Regions from separate parts of the Homo sapiens genome. Here regions 1 and 3 are each linked to region 2. Evidence: promoter capture Hi-C in human tissues and cell types (Jung and others, 2019). All regions are on one chromosome and are shown on one strand. Each heading gives the region's core, a stretch centred on a gene start or on the middle of the fragment in contact. The rest is flanking DNA. Distances are from core to core; before and after follow the strand shown.

Region 1 (3,896 bases), core at 748-3,247, 110 kb after region 2:
TGGAAAAAATGCATCTCATTTTGGTAGCATACTTAGAAAAAGCAAAATAAGAATAAATTTGCATGCCAATTAGATGCAAAGTTACCACACATACCTCAAGATAAATTTGAGATCCTGAAACAAGCAATTGGGTCTATAATATTTTGTAACATATTCATTTGGATATGTGCGCTATCTGCATTTTTAGTGAAAGAAAATGCATTCAATCAAGGGCCATAGAGAGAGTGCTATCAACAATATTCCAAGTTCTAAACTAAATTGCAGAAGATTGTCTGTGCAAGTTCACTTATAATGTGTATAATTTATATCACAGCAAAGTAAATATGGATGAAAGAAACATTTGAATGAGAAAGGGATACACTTTTAAAATTTTGCCCAACATTTTATACTTTTGGATAGCTAATTTTTTATTTAAAAATTATATTCTTCCATAAATAATTATCCATGAGAAAATCTTTATAGGTAGCCTTATAAAATGTTCACAGTAAATTAACACATTTGAAATCAAAATTAATAGGCACTGGTTGTGTATAAAAGAAGCATACATTTTGATTCATGTAATTTGTTCAATTGAGCAACCATGTAAAAAATAATTATGCTACATTTGTCAGACTCAGTTTGAGGATGACTAAAAGATGATTAATGATTTTGAAACATGCATAGAAAAACATTTTAAACTGATTTTTAGGAATGCTTAAAATAATTATTAACTTCAAGTTATAAACTGCACAAGAAAATTAACTTATGAATTTTATGCCATAAATCAAATTTGCTCCCTTAAGAGAAAAGATTTTTGTTTATATTTAATTGAAAAAAGAAAATGAATCAATAGAAAGGTTATGTACAAAATTGGATTTGTGTATAGGGATGTGTACAAACTGAGTCTATAGGGTACACATGACAATTGGTTACAATTTTACAATCATAATGTGTAGTGTAGAGAAATCAACAGCAGAGGAACCACTCTAACACATTAAGTTCCTTGGTCAAATAAAAGAGATTCTCCTGTTGAATAACAGAATTTAAAACATTTTCAGTGGTAGGCAAGTGTGTTAATCTTTCCTGGCCATAGTGGAAATAAAGGCCGTAGAAGAACTGAGTGATGTTATTAGCAGTGCAAATAGAGTTAAAAATTGCCATCATCTAGAACTGACCTCATGTGCTTGGGAAACTGAATCTTCTCGCCACAGATGGCTCTAATGAGTCGGGAGGATGGTGCTGGGCAGAGGTCAGTGTTGGAAGTCCTTTCTTATGGCAAAGAGTTTGCAGTCTGTGCATGCATGTGTGTGTAAGTGTGTGATGAGAGTTGCAGTTGTGGGATGTAAGAAATAAAATGCGGCTGCTTTTTGTATGGCAAACAGAAAACTAGATAAACAGTAAATTTTGAGATCTGGCAATGATAGGTAAAGAGGGGGCTCTGATAATTCCATGTGGTGGTTGGTGAAGCATTACCCTACACACACCATATTAATGACTAGTTTCAGAGATTGAGAATGCAATTAAATATCTGCTGTAAAATGATATTGAACACCATTTAGTTTTTCATTGATTCTGAAGTCATGTTTGGATCATACCATACCCCAGAGTACTCACTACAACATTAGCTATCGAGTCATACGTTTTTATAGATGTGTTGGTTAAAAGAGAATTCTGGTTTCCCAGAATGTTGGGTATCAAACTATCCCCTGCACTGGATTTTATTTAATTCCAAAGGTTATGGACTTTCCCAGTTGTGTTACATTCTATCTTCATCAGTCTAAATGACATTTTGCTCTTGACATTCTGTTCTTCTGTGTCTAGCCTTGGAGTTTTGTTTTTCAGTTATTTAAGGATATGATCACTTCCTTCTGAGAGGCTGTGAAAATAATTATTCCACGAACAGATCCCGCAGTTTGGAGATACGATCAGTAACTCCAATTCTGTATTAAAAGTTGCTATGATCCTTGTCTCCTTCCTTTTTTATTATTTCTAAAAATGTTATTACCTTTCAAAAAAATACATCTTTGCTTTCACAGGGATTCATGTGTTATTTTATCAAACTGCTTAGTATTCACCTTCTTAAGGTATTATGCAGTTGCTGATATTTTTCTGCAAGGCAAATCGAGCAACCTTTCTCATTTGGTTGGATGTTTTTGTTTGGAGTTGTTCTGTCTGATTTCGTGCCACTAGCCATGTGTAACTTAAAATGAGAGTAGTCTGACTTGAGGTGTGTTGTAAATGTGAAGTACGCACACCGTGTCAAAGACTTCATGCCATAAAATAATATAAAATATTTCAATAATTTTTATACTGATTGCATGTTAAAATAACATTTTAGATTATTAGATTAAATACATTATCAAAATTAATTTCATTTATTTCTTTTTAGTTTATTAATGTGGCTACTAGAACATTTAAAATCACATATGTGGCTTGCATTATGTTTCTATTGTTCGAGGATAAAGAAAATGTGTTCAGGTTGTTGCAGGATCCATGATAAAAACTCATGGGGTCATGTCCTTATTGTATGCTTCTCTCGTGAGATGAATGATAGGGAAGAGGAAATCCAGATAAAAGAAAGTGACTGTTTGGTAATTATTGGCTGTGCTTTTCTCTTCTACCATTATGTGTATGCTCCGTTAGCCTGATTTGCTTGGTTTAATTGCTGGGTTGGGATGGCTTCTTGATGGGGGAGGGAATGGAATCATTGTGCTATTTAGGGCTCCTTTTAATGGTGACCCCTTGACTAGTTGATCATTAATAGTTCACTCATATGACTGGGAAGGATAATGGCAGAAAGGAAATACAGAAAGTTTGTATTAAAATATGGCTAATACAAATATGAGATATGCTGCATTTTAATGTACTGTAGGTTAAATTTGCAAACCTATTCTGTAGAGTAAGCATGTAGCAGTTTGTGTTGCTTTCCATTAGTCTGTGCCTGGGGTTACATGTATAAAGCAGCAGTTCCCCCAGACTAGTGATTCTAGCCATTTGAACACGAAATGTGAATTTTACTGCATAATTGATCTGGTTGTTTATATCAGTATTTCTTGGCAAGACCATCTAAATGAAGTAAATTGTCCATGCACTAGCCTTCTGGTTGCTCAGTAGTTATTACCCAAATAAATATATGAAAGTATTCGATGTCCTAGCCACTGAGTGATTTGCTGGTTAACTGGTTCTAATTTCTAAACCTGTTTATGCTTGGATTTGCAGAAGTGTGACAGAATAAATATGGTCATGAGGACAGTCTTCTAACAAATTGATGTTTTTCATCTCTAGTCTGAATAAATACAATGAGGGCCTGAACTAGTCAGTGAGAGAGATGGAGAAGGCAATTGGATTAAAAAGCACAGATGCAAAATAAAGTCCTTTGGGAATGATCACTGGTTGGCAGGTGTGGGTGGTGAAAGAAAGAAATGGATTCCAGGTAAGCCCTAGATTGGTAGTATGGGCTAATGGCTGGATGTTGATGCCTTTTACAGGGTAAGGGCTGCTTTAGGAGAGGGGCAAGATTGAAAATAGGTTGTGACAGGCTCATTGTTAGGCATGTTGACATCACAGCATCATAGAAGCTCTGGCTGAAAGAAAACTTAAGTTCCATCTAGTCCAATAACTTATGGTAAGATTGGTAGTTTAATATAATAAATATTAAATGCCTTCTGTTTCCAAAGCTCTATGCCAGACACCAGAACTCCCCCATTGGAAAAAATTAAAAAGCTGGCTCATTTGAGGGTTTCCATTCCTAAAGAGCTAGTTTACCCAGGTTTTACTGCAAAACAGCTTTGGGTGATTCCCCCTTCCTTCTTCATCACTGAGGCTTGTCAATAAGGAAGGATCCCACATGGGGAGTCACTAACCCTCAAGCTAAACAGGAAAGCTTCAGAAAACACAGGTTCAAACTCATTGCAGAT
Region 2 (3,411 bases), core at 196-2,695:
GGGTTAAGAGATGAAATTTATTTCTTGGCTTAGCATTTTGGAAGAAATCACTTGGCATTTGTCATTGGCAAGATAAAAAGAAGCTCTGATTTCTGTTCTCCAGAAGATGTACTTGGCTTCTTCCTTTCTCTTAATTTACCCCTATGGCTCTCATTTTGCCTCAGAATGTGAAAGAATAGGCTTACTACTTTGCATTTAGTTAATTTGGTGAGTTCACTGTACTCTCATCTCTGGGCTATTAAATAGTTCAAAAATAAATATCGCATCACTTGTGGAATATGTAGCATGGATCTCATTTGAGCTGTGTTTTAAAACAAATGGTAATTATTTAACATTTACATCATACTTGGAAAGTATTTCAGAATAGAACTTTTTAATAATAAGTAGTCAAACACATAACTGGGATCAATGGGCAAGAGAAAAATAAAATTTTAATGTTCCATTGAAAGGTGTAGGCTCAGGAAGAGAGAAAAATACTTATGTGTATTTTGTATACTCATGTGTATTTGGGACAAACACAGGTTGTGGACGACAGGATTGAAAGTCAGATTAACTGGATCAAAATTCAGGCTGCGTACTGAGCCAGTCTAAGATTTCACCGAAATCTGGGAGCTGCTCCCACTCCCTGGACTTTTGTGCAAAGACTGGAGGAAGCTGTGAACAGCCTGGGCTAGGAGAACATTCCCCCTCTGGGAGGAGAGGCTCGCATGAGCTCATGGGGCTTTCCACCGCAGACCCAGCCTTGGCAGCCACAAAGTGTCCAGCAGTGAAACCTGGCCCTTCAGTTCTCAAGGGCCCTTTGGAACATATTTGACTCTAAGCAGAGGTCACTATTCCAAGAGTGACTCATGTCTTGGGGTTAAGTGGAGATGATGGGTGGGATCCATGAACAGATCCAGCTCTTCCCAATGTGGGGGGCACCAGAGTGCATAGCTTGGGAGGGTTGGTCATCCGAAGAGGCACTGCGTGGGTGCATCCCGGGCAAAAAGGATGAGAAGGTGATCCACTGGCTTCCATACCCTGGGAAAGGTGTCAGACCGTGAGGTCACATCAAAAGGTATGAGTGTGGGTACCTCCTTCCCTCCCCCGACGGTGGGGGCCTCATCTCTCGGCCATATCACCTCTGTGCCTTGCACACTTCCTGGCTCAGACTCAGCCCTGTCCACGTTCTCTTCCACCATCTGATCTGCCCCCATCTCCCAAAGACTACTTGTGGGGACTAGGGAGGTTTAGGGGTGTAGTCAAGCCAGATGCACCGAGGTTGCTGCGGTGGGAAGAGGGCGCTGGGAGGGAGGAGGACCTGGGGCGCAGCCGTGGTGGGTGCGCCCTGCCAAGAAGGGCGGGGGCGACGGGGCGCGCACGCGGAGGAGGAGGAGGAGGAGGGAGACGGGAGGGCGTGTGAGCGAGTGAGACAAGAAAAGGGAGCGCGCCCGCCGCCGCCGCCGCCGCCGCCCTCCTCTGGAGAGAGAGGCTGGAGTGAGGCTGTGCGAAGCGCCGCATTTCAATGAGGACGGGCCGAGGCACATCCCTGCACTAGTGGCCGCAACCGAGGCGCCGCGCTCCAGCAGCTGCTGCCGCCCAGCCCGGCCCCGCCGCCGCCCCCCAGCCCTGCAGCCCCGCAGCCCCGGCCGCGCCCAGCCCGGCGAGGACAGCACCAGGAGGCGGCCCCCAGCGCGGCCACAAAGACCCCCGGCGGCGTCTCTCCGCGGACCGGTGCGTGGTTTGCCTTCCCTGGGGACGGGAGCTGCGGGGAGGGCGGCCGGGGGACTCCGCAGAGCCCGCTCCGCCCGCAGCCGCGGGGCGCCGAGGGCAGGGCGGGCGCTCAGCTTGGCCCCGCCGCCCCGCCCGCAGTTCCTCGAAAGGCGGCCGCCCTGCCCTGGCCAGCCTGGCCCGACCCGGGGGCGTTGCGTGCGGGCGGCCCCGGGGCTGCTGGCACCTGCCTCTTTTGTTTGGTGCCATGGGGCTTTAAACCTGGAGTCAGGCGAGCGGGCCCTCCCAGGCTTTTCGCGTTGTTAGTGGAGATGGAGAGCCAGGGCGGAGGAGCTGGGAGAGGTGCTTGTCATTGTCAGAACTGGCTGCGGAGCGGGAACCAAGGAAGGAGTGGCCGGGCCCGGCCTCTTATTGTGTGTGTGCTTTTCCGTGTGCCCGGGCCAGTGATGTGTGCTTGTGGATGGGGTCGATTCGTGCGTGGTGGTGGCTGCAGCGTGGGTGTTGCAAGTACGTTTGCAGGGTCTCAAGTTCCTTCAGGGACAGCGAGGCTGCCTCATGTTCAAATTAGTACCTGCAGTGCTAAAAGCTTGCGGAGAGGAAATGGCATTTTTTCCTCCTAGTGGGAGCGCACGCACAGCCCCGCAATGCCCCACAAAAGAGGCTGCTTTTGAAAACCAGGTTTGCGCGGAATTGCTCCTGGATTTGGCAAGGAGATGCTTGGTCGGTGAGAGAGAAGATGAAAGGTTTCATTCAAACCGGCTCCCTCTCTGCTGCACCTGTGAGTGTGTCCAGGCACGGTGCACACACGTTCAGCGACCACACTGCAGGCTGTTCCGTGAATACATTTTATGACTGTTCCTAAATATATTGCCTTTCAGTGGGAAAGGAAAGTAGGACAGCGTTTTAAGTATGAAATGTCACATGGATGCAGGTCAGAAGGGATTTTTTAAGAGAGGTCATATAGAGGAAAATTATAAAAGATATGCACACACCCTGTGATGTCTACGTCCGTGGTGGTGCACGGGCCTGGAAGGTATGTGTGCGTTTTATTTCATGCCAGTCCACCTGAATCCTAATCCCACGGTTAAAATATGCCTTGGGACTTCCAGGTCCAGCATCTATTTAGATGTGGTAGCATTTATGCCATTTTTTTCTTGGTATATATGTGTGTAAATTTCTGAAACAAGAACCATGTGCTCATCTAGAGAAGGATGAACATAGATTCCTCAAAATGGTGAGAAATCCCACCGAGAACAATCAGGGATGTTGGTTTCTTGAAATGGCAGGATTTATAGGAAAAGCTCTGATGAGAGCCAGTGGCCCTTCTTACCTCCAGTGTCTGTGGTCGCTGTGGCTGAGGTGCTGTGGTTACCATCCTGGTGCCACTGCACATGTGCACTCAGGCCCTTGGCCACCTATGGTCTCTGAACATTGAGCTGTGTGTTCTCGCAGCCTTCCTGTGCAGAAAGTGTAAACCTGTGGAAGGCCAGTGGATCTTCAGAAGCTCATGCATGGTTCAAATGTATGACTAAGCCAAGGTGAGGGAAAGAACACCTATTTTGTTGCCACGAATAATTACCAGCACACTAGGGTGTGGAGTGTGCTCCATTTAGAGGTAGCTGTAGCCTTGAAAATGATTTCACTCTGAGTATGGTTTCTTTTGTCGACACCATTGCCCACTTTTGGACAGATTCAGGGAAG
Region 3 (3,663 bases), core at 867-3,366, 94 kb after region 2:
AAATTTAAATAAAAAGGGAATTTTTAAAAGTCAGTGTTTGCCTCTCTGGTTTAGCTTTAGAAGAAAGTGGTGCTGAAAAAAAATCACCGATGTTCGCACATTTTGAAGAGTGTGAATTTTATTCACCAATTTGCTTTTTATACCAGAGGCCAGCTGCTACCTTTTGGAAGAGTGAAACATTTCAGCCAGAATTGCCTGCAGCTCAGTATAGCTCCAATGGCAGAAGAAATCCTACCAGATTATGTCCTTTGATTTTTCACAGATTTTGTTCAGAGGATCTGGCAATGGGTTGCAGTTTCACACTTCAGAAATACATGGTGGCCAAGAGTTATTTCTGGAGTTTTCTTTTAAAGCCTTATCAGTTGTTGAGATTCTCTGTGCTCCTGAATCCATTTCCTACTCATTCCTTACCTGAAATGAGATATTTATATCTTTTCTAAGTTGCTTTTAAATTTGAAAACTGCATCTTCTACAACAGTGACAGATCAAAATGCCAGCTGGACATTTGATAGGATTCTTCATTGGTAGGCGCCTGACGAATGACTACTAAGTCATGTGAAATACTTTCTTTAGTCATAGGACATGGTGCTGTGAATCATGAAATGTTAGACATAAATTTTACACACAGGGGATTACATTCTAAAATGAGTGCTCAAGATCCTTGGCTGTGGAATTAGAGAAACTTCATTCAAGTCTTGAATCTGCTACCTCCTAGATATTTGAACACATTCTTAACTTTACACCTCAGTTTCCTTATCTGCAAAATGAAAAAGAAAAATAGTGTCTAACGCATGAACACTAATTGTTGTAGTATTAAAGGAGGTAACTTTGCTGTGCTTGTCATAGCGCTTAGTAAAATTAAATAGATATTAAGCATTTTCATTATCATGCTGGCATTTATGGAAGACATGCCAGCTACCTACCCACCTACCTGAATAGCATCACCAAATATGTTGCTTCTAAAAGATCAGTTGTGCATAAGTTGCTTAGGAACATGTACTGGAAAAGCCTCTGAGATTATGCATTTGATTAAAACAAAAACAGGTATGTGCCAAAGAATATCATTGCTCCTTTGGGATCTTGACTTAAAGTTCTGCCCCATAGGTACCTCAGTATTCCATCTCTCACTTCTCTTTCCTGACCAAAGCTAAGCTCTAGGCTCTTGTTACTGTATTTGGTTCTCCAGGATTCTCTGCCCTGCCCCTGGGAGGCTCTCATTCCTGTAACCAGGAAGCACTCTGGAAGACCGAACCATCTCCGGGCCTTAAAACAAACCTCAGGGGCAGGGATGGACCCATGGTGGGGACAGTGACCTGTCCTGCCTCTTCATTCACACCCATCTTTGGGAACTGTTACCAGCTTAGCAAGCAAGGTAACAAGTCACTGAGCTTTTATGGGACCCAGCTTCCTTGTTCATAAAATGAGAAAGCTACCAAAGATGAGGTTGATGGTCTCTTGCTTCTCCATTATTCTCTTGGATTCAATAAATTACTGGACATATCTAGGAAAAATAAATGTCACAGTCACCGCCTCCAAGAGGCTTTCTTTGTTCACAAAGTCTTCCTTTTATTACCACTCAGGCTGCAGTGAGCTGTATCTTAAAAGTCTTAATGTGTCTCTGACACATTATAAGCCATACCCATGGAACCTTGGAAGTTCTTTTTTTACAGTAGGGGATTAGATTTTCTTTCTATTTTTTAAATTTTCTTTTTTTAATTGATACATTATCACATACATGTGATAATTAGATAAATTCATATAATGTGTAAAGATCACATCAGGGTGGCCGGGCATGGTGGCTCATGCCTGTAATCCCAGCACTTTGGGAGGTTGAGACAGGCAGATCATCTGAGGTCAGGAGTTTGAGACCAGCCTGGCCAACATGGTGAAACTCCGTCTCTACTAAAAATACAAAAATTAACTGGGTGTGGTGATGCACACCTGTAATCCCAGGTACTTGGGAGACTGAGGCACGAGAATCGCTTGAACCCAGGAGGCAGAGGTTGCAGTGAGCTGAGATCGCACCACTGCACTCCAGCCTGGGCAACAGAGGGAGACTCCATCTCAAAACAAAACAAAACAAAACAAAAACCACGAGAAAAAAGGTCACATTAGGGTAATCGGGATATCCACCACCTTAAATATATATCTTTTCTTTATGCTAGGAACATTAGAAAAATTCTCTTCTATTTTTAAATATGTAATATGTTATTGTTAACTATACTCACCCTACTGCTCTATGGAACACTAGGCCTTATTTATTCTATCTAACTGTGTGCTTGTACCCTTCAATCAACTTCTTTCATCCTCCTCAACCCCTACCCTTTCTGGCTTCTGGTAACCACAGTTCTATTCTCTATCTTCATGAGATCATTTTTTTTTAAAGCTTCCACATATGAGAGAGAACAGGTGATATTTGTCTTTCTGCATTTGGTTTATTTCACTTATCATAATGGCCTCCAGTTCCATTCATGTTGCTGCAGATGACAGGATTTCATTCTTTTTTATGGCTGAATAATATTCCACTGTGTGTGTGTGTGATATATATATCACATTTTTCTATCCATTCATCCATTGATAGAAACTTAGATTGATTCCATGTCTTGGCTATTGTGACTAGCGCTGCAATAGACATGGGAGTGCAGACATTTCTTCAATATATTGATTTCCTTTCTTTTGGATATACACCCAGTAGAGGAATTGCTGGATCATATCATAGTTCTATTTTTCATTTTTTAGAAAGTTTTTTAAGGATAGAGATAATGCTGTTTTTAACCTTCCTAAAGAGCTTTACCAACAATTACATTCAAAATTAACGTATTATTCATTAAAATTATAAATGTATAGTATATAAATGTTTAACATGTATAAAATCTGATAACTTAATATGTAAATAAAATGTGACTTTCTATGTTATATATATCATATATACCGTATATGATCTTATACCTACACATACACACACATATATCCTTTTGGGTTCAAAAGCACATAAAAATATAAGGAGTCATTGTGATTACAATCCGTAGTAAATGGTGGTCTAGTGTTATGTAGAACATCAAGGTATTTATTCGACTTGCCGTTCAAGGAGTCCAAGAAAAAACATACCACACTGACACAGGACAGGCAAGCCCCCAAACTGGGGCTTAGCCCCAAAGGATTCCTGGCTTTGCCCAGGAAAGAATTCGAGGTCGAGCCGGTGGTGTTGGACAGCAGGGTTTATTGAAGCGGTAGAGTGCACAGCAGCAGCAGAGATGCTGCTCCTTGAGGAGAGGGCTACCTCTTAGGCAGTGTGCCCAGAGGAGCAGCTCAGAGGCAGTTCTGCAGTCATATTTATACCCACTTTTTATATGCCAATTAAAAGGCAGTTTAGGCAGAAACTTCCAGGTTGTGAGGTTGTTTCCATGGAAAGGGGTGGTAACTTATGGGTGTTATGGCAATGGTAAACTGACATGGCACACTGATGGGCATGTCTTACGGGGAGGTGCTTCCACCCCAGCCTTTATTGGTAGGTGCTTCTGCCTCTGTTTTAGCTAGTCCTCAATTTGGTCCAGTGTCCAAGTCCTGCCTCCAGAGTCTAGTCCCTCCTCCTAGCTCAATATCCATGGAAATATTATCTATTTGGATAATGTTGTTATCTTTATAACTATCACAGTGTGGCCA

Evidence for each region. Contacts are between HindIII fragments. The study calls those that stand out against the background at their distance.
Region 1: a contact is called between a fragment that was not itself captured here and the fragment with the promoter of DCLK1 in region 2, in 2 of the 25 tissues and cell types used here (dorsolateral prefrontal cortex and mesendoderm cells).
Region 3: a contact is called between a fragment that was not itself captured here and the fragment with the promoter of DCLK1 in region 2, in 4 of the 25 tissues and cell types used here (dorsolateral prefrontal cortex, mesendoderm cells, pancreas and 1 more).

Annotation. Positions count from the first base shown.
Region 1 is chr13:36,015,217-36,019,112 of GRCh38, reverse strand. All of the region lies in intron 3 of DCLK1 (doublecortin like kinase 1), which reads left to right. Among named protein-coding and RNA genes, the nearest start is that of DCLK1, 110 kb to the left of the region's middle. The HindIII fragment of the contact is 4,629 bases long and covers 1-3,896 here.
Region 2 is chr13:36,129,416-36,132,826 of GRCh38, reverse strand. It overlaps DCLK1 (doublecortin like kinase 1), which reads left to right and starts at 1,445. Exons shown (of 17, transcript NM_001330071.2): 1 at 1,445-1,713. The HindIII fragment of the contact is 11,041 bases long and covers 1-3,411 here.
Region 3 is chr13:36,035,905-36,039,567 of GRCh38, reverse strand. The region is part of intron 3 of DCLK1 (doublecortin like kinase 1); the gene reads left to right. Among named protein-coding and RNA genes, the nearest start is that of DCLK1, 94 kb to the left of the region's middle. The HindIII fragment of the contact is 7,729 bases long and covers 1-3,663 here.